4 separate regions of the Homo sapiens genome follow, and regions 1, 3 and 4 are each linked to region 2. Evidence: promoter capture Hi-C in 16 types of primary human blood cells and fetal thymus (Javierre and others, 2016). All regions are on one chromosome and are shown on one strand. The core of a region is centred on a gene start or on the middle of the fragment in contact, and the rest is flanking DNA. Distances in the headings are between cores, read along the strand shown. Region 1 overlaps LOC105370532 (a long non-coding RNA gene). Region 2 holds the start of AKAP5 (A-kinase anchoring protein 5). Region 3 overlaps SGPP1 (sphingosine-1-phosphate phosphatase 1). Region 4 overlaps MAX (MYC associated factor X).

What was found. The method cuts DNA at HindIII sites, captures the fragments that hold promoters and counts their contacts. A CHiCAGO score of 5 or more calls a contact.
Region 1: a contact is called between a fragment that was not itself captured here and the fragment with the promoter of AKAP5 in region 2, in 1 of 17 cell types (M2 macrophages). The highest score is 8.2, in M2 macrophages.
Region 3: a contact is called between a fragment that was not itself captured here and the fragment with the promoter of AKAP5 in region 2, in 1 of 17 cell types (M2 macrophages). The highest score is 5.3, in M2 macrophages.
Region 4: a fragment that was not itself captured here is called in contact with the fragment with the promoter of AKAP5 in region 2 in 1 of 17 cell types (M2 macrophages); the score reaches 5.1 in M2 macrophages.

Annotation. Positions count from the first base shown.
Region 1 is chr14:63,643,309-63,646,463 of GRCh38, reverse strand. All of the region lies in intron 1 of LOC105370532 (a long non-coding RNA gene), which reads right to left. Among named protein-coding and RNA genes, the nearest start is that of WDR89, 3.0 kb to the right of the region's middle. The HindIII fragment of the contact is 772 bases long and covers 1,243-2,014 here.
Region 2 is chr14:64,463,999-64,466,861 of GRCh38, reverse strand. AKAP5 (A-kinase anchoring protein 5) reads right to left here and starts at 1,363. Exons shown (of 2, transcript NM_004857.3): 1 at 1,249-1,363. It also overlaps a transcript of ZBTB25 not described here. RefSeq lists silencers at 1,089-1,158, 1,169-1,568. The HindIII fragment of the contact is 7,002 bases long and covers 804-2,863 here.
Region 3 is chr14:63,701,836-63,704,921 of GRCh38, reverse strand. All of the region lies in intron 1 of SGPP1 (sphingosine-1-phosphate phosphatase 1), which reads left to right. Among named protein-coding and RNA genes, the nearest start is that of SGPP1, 25 kb to the left of the region's middle. The HindIII fragment of the contact is 4,906 bases long and covers 1-3,086 here.
Region 4 is chr14:65,096,738-65,099,714 of GRCh38, reverse strand. All of the region lies in intron 2 of MAX (MYC associated factor X), which reads left to right. Among named protein-coding and RNA genes, the nearest start is that of MAX, 4.3 kb to the left of the region's middle. The HindIII fragment of the contact is 1,125 bases long and covers 966-2,090 here.

The sequences.
Region 1 (3,155 bases), core at 379-2,878, 820 kb after region 2:
ATCCACCCACCTCGGCCTCCCAAAGTGCTGGGATTACAGGCGTGAGCCATCATGCCCGGCCAGGGCTTGCATTCTTCAGATAAAAAGTTTTTTTTTTTTTTCTAAGTAGCTCTTAAGTGACAAATTAAAGAATAGCATTCAGCCTATTTTTTTTTCTACTTTAGATATAAGAACTCAAGTTTTCCTTCATATCAGCAATACATTCTGCAAACCAAAGAGTATCTGAGACAAGCCTCATCAATTTAGGAAGTTTACTTTGCCAAGGTCAAGGATGTGCCCACGGCAGCCTCCAGAGGTCCTGAGGACATGTGCCCAAGGTGTTCAGGGCACAGCTGGGTTGTATACATTTTAGGGAGACGAGACATCAATTAATATATGTAATGTACATTGGTTCAGTCTGGAAAGGTGGAATAACTTGAAGTAGGGAGGAAGTCCACAAGGAATTTCCTTGTGGCAAATTGTGATGAAGGAGGTAAGCAGTTGTTTTATCCTTGCAGCTATCTCATTGAGGAATAGAATGGGAGGCAGGTTTGCCCGACACAGTTCCCAGCTTGACTTTTCCTTTTGGCTTAGTGATTTTGGGGTCCTGAGATTATTTTCTTTTCACAGTTCTAACCACCTGAGCTAACTGGCCAATACCATTCTTTCATATTAGATACTAACTAAAACATTTGTGTTTTTTTCTTTGACTTCTCTCCCCACAAGATCTTCAAATTGCAGTTGTCATGTCCCAACTCCAAATATGGTTTTGATCACATATTTCTCAAAAAAATTTTACCACTTACTCAATACATATATATTTTTACATATACATTGCAAAAATGGCCAGGCTTAGTGGCTCATGTCTGTAATCTTGGCTCTTTGGAGGCCGAGGTGGAAGGATCCACTTGAGGCCAGGAGTTTGAGACCAGCCTGGCCAACATAGTGAGACCCTGCCCCTATTAAAGAAAAAAAAAAAGGGCCAGGCATGGTGGCTCACCTGAGATCGGGACTTCGAGACCAGCCTGACCAACATAGAGAAACTCCATCTCTACTCAAAATACAATTAGCCAGGCATAGTGGTGAATGCCTGTAATCCCAGCTACTGGGGAGGCTGAGGCAGGAGAATCGCTTGAATCCGGGAGGCAGAGGTTGTGGTGAGCCAGATCACACCACTGCACTCCAGCCTTGGCAACAACAGCGAAACTCTGTCTCAAAACAAAACAAAAAACAAACAAACAAAAAAAGATTTTTAAAAAAGCTTATATTGTTATATGTAAAAAATTTAAAAACACAGAAATGTAAAGAAAAATGTTGAGAATAAAAAGGACATACAAATAAGGGTTCTAATATTCTCTTCCTGCATCTCAAGAGTCGTTTCATTCATCTCACTTTGAGTTTACTTGGTTCTTTTTTTTGTTTAGTTTTGTTTTAGACAGGGTCTCACTCTGTCATCCAGGCTGGAGTGCAGTGTTGAGATGATGATTCATTGTAACCTCTGTCTCCTGGGCTGAAGCAATCCTCCCATTTCAGCCTCCCAAACTGCTGGGATTACAGGTGTGCACTACCATACCCAGCCTGAGTTCACTTCTTAAACTATTTCCCAACAGAGTACAAAGATGATTCACAGGTTCACACTGTTAAAGGTAGTAATGGTGCCTGTTTAAATATGTTTTTTAAATTCTCAAAATAATAATTTTTTTCTTTAAAATAGAACATTTTGGCCGGCTCAGTGGTTCACACCTGTAATCCCAGCACTTTGGGAGGCCAAGACAGGTGGATCTCTTGAGGCCAGGAGCTCAAGACCAGCCTGGCCAACATAGCAAAACCCAGTGTCTGCTGAAAATAGAAAAAATTAGCTGGGTGTGGTGGCACGCGCCTGTAATCCCTGCTATTCGGGAGGCTGAAGCATGAGAATTGCTTGAACCTGGGAGGTGGAGGTTGCAATAAGCCGAGATTGTGCCACTGCACTCCAGCCTGGGTGACAGAGGGAGACTCTGTCTCAAAAATAAACAAATGAAACATTTTAGAAGCTTCCAAAAGTGCTGAGAGAACACTTAGAATTTAAATCAGCCAAATGTGGCCACAGTTTAGTCACTCAGCTGATCTATCATTCAGCTAAACAGCGCTAACCACAGTAGCCTTGATTCAGTTTTTAATGGTGTTTATTCTTAGTTATATGACATTTAATTAACATGTTAAATGAACTACTGATTTAAAATAAGAGGCAAAAGGAAAATACCATTAAAATGCTAGCTAATGAAAAGCATTAAAAATATAATTCTGCATTTTTGCCAGAGTCATCTTCACCCATCCATATGTTTCACCTACTACATCACATAGAATATTACAAGGATAAATATATCGATGATTTACACCCAATTTCGCTCTTCATTTATTGGGAATAAAAACGAGCATAAGCTTGTAATCCCAGCACTTTGGGAAGCCGAGGCAGGAGCCTCGTTTGAACTCAGGAGTTCGAGACCAGCCTGGGCAACATAGCGAATCTCTGTCTACACAAAAAATATGGCCGGGCGCAGTGGCTCACGCCTGTAATCCTAGCACTTTGGGAGGCCGAGGCAGGTGGATCACAAGCTCAGGAGTTTGAGACCATCCTGGCTAACACAGTGAAACCCCGTCTCTACTAAAAATACAAAAGATTAGCCGGGCATGGTGGCATGTGCCTGTAGTCCCAGCTACTTGGGAGGCTGAGGCAGGAGAATCTCTTGAACCCGGGAGGCGGAGGTTGTAGTGAGCTGAGATCGCGCCACTGCACTCCAGCCTGGGCGACAGAGCGAGACTCCATCTCAAAAAAAAAAAAAAAAAAAAAAAATCTGGGCTTGGTGGCGTGTGCCAGTAGTCTCAGCAATTCAGGAGGCTGAGGTGGCAGGCTCACTTGAGCCCAGGACGTCGAGGCTGCAGTGAACCATGATCCCACCTCCTGCCAGTGCACTCCAGCCTGGATGACAGAGCGAGACCCTGTCTCCAAAACAAAACAAAACAAAGAGCTAAATCGGTAATGTTTCCTTTACAAACAACCTGAAACCTTCTCTAATCATTTAGAAATAAGATACAAAAATGACAAAAATAATTCGATATTTTAAACAAAAATGCAATAATTACAAGCATCAGTAATGAACGCAGTTTTTGCTTAGCTTTAATTCTGTAAAGTGTAC
Region 2 (2,863 bases), core at 114-2,613:
TGGAAATGGGAGGTGATTATCCAACAAAGATCCTATGAATTTTAGTGGGTGGATGCCCTAAAATAAGCAAAGGGACTCATTCTTTATATTGTTTTTATGTAAATCCTTCACTGAAGTTTCATTTGGGTAACCCATAATTTTATGAACTGTAGAAGGAACTGGAACCCTGAAAATCAGTTTATGATCTAAGTAAATATTATCTTAGGTTGGGTGTTTCATACTGTGTGCCTCTAACAGAAAGATAAAGTCATTCTAGAACAATGACGGAACTAAAATATGAACATTTGACAGTGTTTCTCCTCACAATGTTTCAGTGAGCACTAGAACCTAAGCTGATAACTGTTTAAATCTTCTCACCTCTTGTGAGTTTTCAGCACCTGAGCATTTTTGTTAAGCAGAGGCTGTATTACCACATAATAGAAATATTGAAATGAGATGTTTAGGAGTCTGTCATTGGAAACTAACCTGGATTGCGCAAAGACAATCGTTTGAGAAGCTCACTTGAATGTATCTCACATACTAGAAATAAAACGAATACCCAAACAGAAACTTAACTAACGAGGGAAAATAATGCAGTCTGTAGACAATAAAACTTTGCAGAATGTCAGACTGCAAATGATTCGCTCTTAACCAGCAAGGGTAGCTTTATCGCCTCAGGAAATCTTAAAGTCCCTGTGCTCATTTCCTGATGGAATTGCAAGTCTCATGTCACAGAAAACACCCCCTTTCCTTTTTCCCTTGAGCAGCCAGTACCCGAGGAAAGCAATGCATCTTTCCCAGCACCAGATACGGACCACGAAGCTTCCTCCTGGAGGAAGGAATCTCGAATTCTGGCTTGACGCCCCTTATGGCAGGAGACAGAGCGCAGGATAAAGTACTCAAAAAGGAAAATGCCGGGGGCGTGGAACAGATAACCCAGCTTCAGGCTGTCTGCAGAATTATAATGTAATGGCCAGAAACCCAAAATCACATTTCTCAAAGAGGGATAAAGAAGGAAAAAAGCCACCGGCAACCCATGCTTCTAAGACAAGCTGTAACGCGAAGGGGATAGGTGGGCAGACCTGATGAGGGTCGCCCTGGCCGCGGATTCCAGCGGACAAGCGACCTCCCGCGTTCTTACTCCCAGCACCTCAGAGGGCTCGGATACCCCGTATCCAGTGGGCACCTCTTGCCCACTCCGCGGTCCGCGGACCGGACATTGCCCCCGACCCTCCTCCCCCGCAGGCTCCCCGCCCTGCCTTTACTTACGTAGGGCGTCGGGGTCCTTGGCCAACACTGCTCCCGAGGTGGCGGCGCGCTCGCGGGGCCCGCCGCCCAGGCCTCCAGGGAGCCGCGGTCGCACCCGGAGCAAGGCGCCCTCTGCAGAGCCCGCCGCCGGGTGCGCCCCCTCCCCACCGCGCGGGGACAGACAGCAGGCAGCGCCAATGCGAGCGGAGCGGAGCGGGCGGGCAGGGGCGGGGCGACCGCCGGAGGCGCGGGGCGGCGCGGGCGCCGGGACCCACCTGCAGCAGCAGCCTGCCTGCCTGCCGCGGGGAAGCCCATCGTGCTCCGCCCGGGCGCCAATCTCCACTGCCAGACCACATCAGCGCCGAGGCGGGGACCGCAAGAGAGCCAGCCGGAAGGTTCGGGGGGCGGGGGAAGGCGGGGGGGACCAGGGCAATGAACCCCGCGTTTTCTGAGACGCTAAATAGTGAGGTCCGGTTTCAAATTATAGACAGTCGCATTACACATCTCCTCTCCTCCCCCTCAGAATATTTAAAGACAAGGCAGACATCGCATTTTAAAAGCAGGATTCAAAACTGTGCATAGAATAGCGAGGTCATGTTTGTTTGAAGCGAAAATTACATATATAAATGGAAACAGAAAGAAACCCGACTTTCTCAGGAGTGGCTTGAGTGTCAGATCATCGTGGTTCATCGCCAAACAGGCTTTCAAACCTTTGTCTCCCAGTGGGAAGCAGGTGGAGGTGATTGGTGCAGAACTTTGGCCTGCAGGAGCAGCTGCATCTCTATGCGGACAAGGTGAGAAAGGCACAGGAACCCAGCTCCATCCATCTTATACCTTACATAGTTCCAAAAATAAGTTGAGGTAGCTTACAAGTTACCCATGATTCCCTTCAGGACATTCCCTATGAGGGCATTCCTGGGAGCTCCAGCTGTAAAATCTAGTAGGATCCATCACAATCCCAGCCTCCTCCTCTGGCCCCCATAGCATAGCATCCAGATGAAGAACCTGGTAAGGTGAAGTGAAGAACTACTGAAAAGCAGCCGCGTTCATCTCCTTTCTTCAACAGGATCACGACCTTAGGGAGTGTAAATGTCAGGTGTCCATTTTTGTATTTTTTCCGGAAATGTTTTATATTTGTAAGATTCTGTAGTTTCCACAGAGGCTTATCAAGGAAAGAACTCTTGAGACACAAAAGCAAAGCCAAATATAAGCTGTCAAGATCTTAAAATTACAGATAAAAGAGGCAAGAGTTGTAAAACAGGAAAATCCATAAGCATCTAGTTTAGTTGTAATTAAGAATTCAGGGATGGGCGCAGTAGCTCACACCTGTAATCCCAGCACTTTGGGAGGCCAAGGCAGGAGGATGGCTTGAGTCCAAGAGTTTGAGACCAGCCTGGGCAACATAGGGAGACAAAAAAATCTAAAAAATTAGCTGGGCATGGTGGTGCACGTATGGTCCCAGTTACTCAGGAGCTCAGGAGGCTGAGAAGGGAGGATCACTTGGGCCCAGAAGGTCAAGGCTGCTGTGAGCCACTACTGCACCACTGCACGCCAGCCTGGGCAACAAAGTGAGACCCTGCCTCAAAAAAAAAAAAAAATTCAGTCAGCCTTGTTCACTCAGCAAACACGTCTATCG
Region 3 (3,086 bases), core at 313-2,812, 760 kb after region 2:
ATTCCTGACCTCAAGTGATCTTCCTGCCTAGGCTTCCCAAAGTGCTGAGATTACAGGCCTGAGCCGCCACACCCGGCCAATTTGTAAATTTTGATGAAATTCCAGTTTACCTATGTTTTTCTTTTGTTACACATGCTTTTGGTGTCATAGTTAAGAATCTGTTGCCTAATCCAGAGTCATAAAGATTTATCCCTGTGTTTTCTTTTAAAAATTTTTTTAAAGATTTTCTTTCTTTATTGAGACAGGGTCTTACTGTGTTGTCCAGGCTGGTCTTGAACACCTGGGCTCAAGCGATCCTTCTGCCTTGGCCTCCCAAAGTGCTAGAATTACAGGTGTGAGTCACTACACCCGGCCCCTATGATTTCTTCTAAAAGTTTTTAGCTGCTATATTTAAGTTGTTGACCCATTTTGAGTGTATATATGGTATGAGATAGGAGTCCAACTTCATCATTTTGCATGTAGGTATTCAGACGTCCTAGCACTATTTGTTAAAGAGACTATTCTTTACCTATTTAATGGTCTTGGCATTCTTATTGAAAATCAGTTAACCATACGTATATGGGTTTAGTTTGGGGCCCACGATTCTATTTCACTGGTCTATATGTCTGACCTTATGTCAGTACCACACTGTTTTGAATACTGTAGTAAATTTTGAAATTGGAAAATATGAGTCCTTCCACATTGTTCTTCTTTTTTAGTATTGTTTTGGCTCTTCAGGACCTTTTGCAATTCCATATAAATTTGAGGATCAGCTTTTCAGTATCTGCAAAAATGCAATTAGAACTTTGACAGAAGGGCTGGGCATGGTGGCTTAGGCCTGTAATTCCAGTGCTTTGGGAGGCTAAAATGGGAGGATCACTTGAGCCCAGGAGTTGGAGACCAGCCTGGGCAACATAGCGAGACCCCCATCTCTATAAAACATTAAAAAATTAGCAGGGTATGGTGGTGCACACCTGTAGTCCCAGCTACATGGGAGGCTGCATTGGGAGGATCACATGAGTCCAGGAGTTGGAGGCTATGGTGAACTATGATTGAACCACTGCTAGATTGCACTCCAGCCTGGGTGATAAAGCGAGACCCCACTCCCCACCTGCCGCCAAAAAAAAAAAAAAAAAAAAAAACTTAAATAGGGATTACATTGACTATAGATCATTTTAGATAATAGTGCCATTTTAACATATTAAGTTTTAATGTATTAAGTCTTCTAATCCATAAACATGGGATATCTTTTCATTAATTAGGTCTTTTTTTTTTTTTTTTTTTTTTGAGATGGAGTCTCTCTTGCTCCGTTGCCAGGCTGGAGTGCCGGGGTGCAATCTCAGCTCACTGCAACCTCTGCCTCCCGGGTTCAAGCAATTCTCTTGCTTCAGCCTCCCAAGTAGCTGGGACTACAGGCACGCGCCACCACGCCCAGCTAATTTTTGTATTTTTAGTGGAGACAGGGTTTCACCATGTTGGCCAGGATGGTTTTGATCTCTTGACCTTGTGATCCGCCCACCTCAGCTTCCCAAAGTGCTGGGATTATAGGCATGAACCACTGTGCCTGGCCTTAATTAGGTCTTTAATTTCTTTCAGTAATGTTTTATAGTTTTCAATGGACAAACCTTTCACTTCCTTAGTTAAGTTTATTCCTAGGTATGGGTATTTTATTCTTTAGGATGCTACTGAAAGTGGAATTATTTTTCTTACTTTCATTTTAGGGTTTTTTTTTTATTGCTGGTATGTAGAAACACAGCTGATTTGTGAGTGTTGATCTTACACCCTGCAACTTTGCTGAATTCATTTATTAATTCTAATATGTTTTCTTCATGGATTATTTGGGATTTTCTATCTTTAGGATCACTTCGTCTGTGAATGGGGGTATAGTAGCCCCGCTCATCAGCAGAGGATATGTTCCACGACCCCCATTGGTGCCTGAAACTGTGGATAGTAGTCAACGCTATATATACTGTTTTTTTCCTGTACATATGTATCTATGATAAAGTTTAATTTATAAATTAGGCACAGTAAAAAAAAATATCACTTTATCTGTTATTTCCTTTAGCCATTAAGATCTGTAGTCTTTTTTGTCTGCTTACTGATGAAATTCTTTTTTACTTTGACACTTAGAAGTTCAGAATTCTGTTATTCAATGGGGAGTAAATATGAAAGTCATCATGTAGTCAGAACTGGATCAAGTGTTCCCCAAAATGTTTTCTTTTTAATTTTTTTTTAGACAGAGTCTCACTTCTTCACCCAGGCTGTAGTGCAGTGGCGCAATCTCGGCTCACTGCAACCTCTGCCTCCCAGGTTCAAGCGATTCTCATGCCTCAGCCTCCCAAGTAGCTTGGACTACAGGTGCGTGCCACTACACCTGGCTAATTTTTGTATTTTTAGTAGAGACAAGGTTTCATCCTGTTGGCCAGGCTGGTCTCAAACTCATGATCTCAAGTGATCAGCCTGCCTCGACCTTCCAAAGTGCTGCTGGGATTACAGGCATGAGCCACCATGCTTGGCCCCAAAATATTTTTTTTCCATAAAAAAATCTAGAGAACATATCATAAAGGTGGAGAGTAATGACCAAAAAAAGTCGGTCAATAAAAATGACTTATTTTGTTTTCTTTAGTCACCTCATCCCAGTGAAATCTGAAGGTGCCATGGAGCAGAGAAAAGGAAAGCCTCATAGCTTCTTTAGCCTCTGCATCTGGCTTGATAACATTCCATCTCTCCTTTTTAAACACCTTGGACATCGTAAAATTGAATAAATGTGGGTTAAGTCATACTTGGTTTCATTGCTCCTATTTAAAATCTCTACCCTTCCCCGTCCTACCTTCACCTCTAGCTTCTGAGACTCTATAGGTGATTTTTTCTTCAGTTTGTTGTGTATAAAGAACTCTTATCAGTAATTTTGTACATTTCTACTTCCTTATAGGGTCCAAGTTAGAGAAGGAAGTGCAGAAAGATTTTTTTAAAGTTGACTTTTTTTTTTTTTTTACTTCTTTTGGTTCTTTTTTTTTTTTTTTTGCTGTCAACAGCTTTTTAAAAATTAGACTTTAAAGGTTTTTAAAGACTTTAAAGGTCAAGTCCCTGCTGTAGAGACAGACACC
Region 4 (2,977 bases), core at 279-2,778, 630 kb before region 2:
AAACTTTTTTTTTCCCTGCAAGTCTCCAGTTGTAAAATCTGTGCTAGGGCTTGATCAGAGCTGGAGGGTAAGGATCGTTTAGCCTTCCTTTGCAGAATTATCCTTTGAATTGAAATTATACTGACTTCCCAGTAAGAGAAAGTTGTGTTTTTTTTGTTTGTTTGTTTGTTTGTTTGTTTTTTTGGTGAAATTTTGGCTCGCAGTTCTTGAAAGCTTTCTGCTTTTCAAAATTTTCATCCATATGATCGTTGATATAAATTTGTTATTAAATTATTATAATGTTTCTGCTTTCCTGGAATGCTAATCTCATTGTTTTGTCTAGATGTTTTTAGTTTGCTGTTAAGGTGCCTAGGATTTTTCCTTTTGATTTTGGGGGTAGGCAAAGGAAGTTGGTTTGACACTTTGTTTTTAATTTAACACATCTATTTGTTGATATTTCTAAATATTACTCTGCACAATGTAATTACAACAGCATGGAGAGAAAAAGCAGATATGTTATAAACAAATTTTATAGTATATCAAACAACTATTGTGACTGTGTAGGGTAAAAAGGATTCCATTTTTTCCCCTCTGTGAATGCATCTGCTTACTTCTCAATATTTAATATGGATAATAAATATATTTTTTAAAATTTAAGAGGGAGCTATTCTTAAGTTTTGCCTTAGAAAAAAGGTTTAAAAAAAGATGTGGACTGTGAACAACCAAATACTTAGGTATTCAGGACTACAGAAGATGTTGAAAAAGTTATTTGAAAAGGGTTCTGTGGATCCTAATATAAAAACATTCATGTATGTTTTATAATGTCACTACAATATATAGGCCTTACTACATGAGAAATGTAAGATACTGAGAAGAGAGTTAGGAAGTTAGGCTAACTCTAACAGAAAGTGAAACTGATTTGGCAAATATTTTTTTCTATTGCTTCAGTACAAACGGAAAACAGCTTCTCCAATGGCCAGTAAGCTTTGTTAAAGGAAGTAACCCCAAAGAGTATTCTTACTACTAAATTCAGTACATCGCAAAATCCCACTGATGTTATTTTTATTATATTTTGGAGGGAAGAGGTTGCATTTTAAAGATAAATTTGTGGGACAGGTATATTATATTGCAAGGGCTTCCTTTTGCTTTATTTCTGTTTGGGAAATTTCTTTAGGAAAGAGTGTAAGTATACAGGAAATGTATGGGTTAGTGTGTTGGTCAGGAAATGCAATTTTTTTTCCAGTGACCATCCTTGATGGCACCTGACTGAGTTGCAGTTGCAGTATACTTGTGAGGGGTTTGAAAACAGATTTGTGCAATTCCACTTCTGGACCTTTCTGGCATGAAATATTTTTAACTTCTCAGAGCTCTTTGCTTCTTTAGGAATATTCAGAAGAGAACGAGCTTGGTAGCCTCCGAGATTGGAATTCACTCAGGAAACTACTGTCTGTTTTACCTGCAGTCAGTTGCATGGCAAAAGTGCTGCACAATGCATGTACTTTTTCTCTGCTTAGAGTGTTGACAGTGATGCTTACAGTGATAACAAATGCCAGAGTTAGTTCCTAAATGTGCCTGTGTTAGGGTAAAAGTTGTTCTTATGTCTAAAAGAATTTTTCCAAGATGCCAGTAACGGTGAAATAGTTGGTCAAAGAATTCAGCTTGGTTTTTAATTAAAATTTCCTGACCAAGGCATCCTTCTCTGAAATGGCTATAGTATGAGGCCCTGTTTGGATTATAGCATTTGCCAGTTATTTTAGGCACCAAAAGAAAAAAGTTTGAAAACAAATACATACATTAGATAATGTTGGAAATGTATACCAGGCAATCAGCTACAAGCAGGACAGGTATTGGAAAATTGAAATCCATGTCTTTCTCTTAGGGAGCTTGGTGAGTTTATCCCATCCTACCTGCCTATTATTTTATGTTATAATTTTTGGGTTGATTAAAATGAATATTTTAAGTTGCTTAGAAATTGAGCTTTATCCTATCTTGTTCTTATCTATCAGAAGTAAGAAATAGATCTTTTCGGATGAGATTTTTGGGTCTGTGTATTCTCGTGTCCTTAGTCTCTAATAAGAATAGCTTGATAAGAATCATAAGCAACACAAGCTTCCCTCTAAAATACAACCTTCACATTTTGTAAAGGTAGTAAATATTGAGTGGGCAACTAATTCCCTATATGCTGAGAATTTTCTGTATTAGAATTGAGATGGTTCCCCTTATAGGTGGGGTTAGCTGTCAGGTAGCCTGTAAGACATGGCATTGTTCTGGAGAACCTTGTGCATCCTGGAATAATGAAGCATTTATTTCCCCGTGCTATTTGCCTAGAACTTGGAGGAAATAAGATTACTGACTGATGTGATGCCTTGAACAAAGATGCAGTCTCTCTGCAGTAAGTTGGAAGGAAATAATTTTAAGAGATTTCCCTCAATTTTGAACAGACCTCCTTAGCCTAGATGACTTCTTGCCAACATAGCAACTTCTTGGCTAACAAAATAATGTTTGTCTTCAACATCTAACAACACTTAAGATACACGTGCTTGGTAGTGTCAAAGATGGACAAATTGTAGGTGAAGATTTTTATTCTGTCTACCAGTGTGGAAAGTTGGGTAGAAATATAACTGAGAGGCTGAATAAAAACTTTGGCAGAGATGTCAAAGCTGGAAGTGATTTGGTGCGGGAGTTTCTGTTGAGCATCTGTGGACCACTGCATAGCCCCTTAGTATTTCTGTTAGGGATGCCCTGGAGGAAGGGTTTTCTGGCAGACATCCAGACGTACAAATCCAGCGTACTAGAAGAGTGGGCAGCATCCAGCCACTGTAACCATAGGATGTGTAGGGGAGATGTTTGGGAGCCTGCTGTACAGTCCAAGAATACCTCTGTGGTCTCCTAGAATAGGGCCTAATTAATTCCACAAGGGGGTTTTCCGTACCATTTGTTTTCATTACTGAACATCATTCTCAGTACAGGCTCATCTGAGTAGAGTTTTATTTGTTCA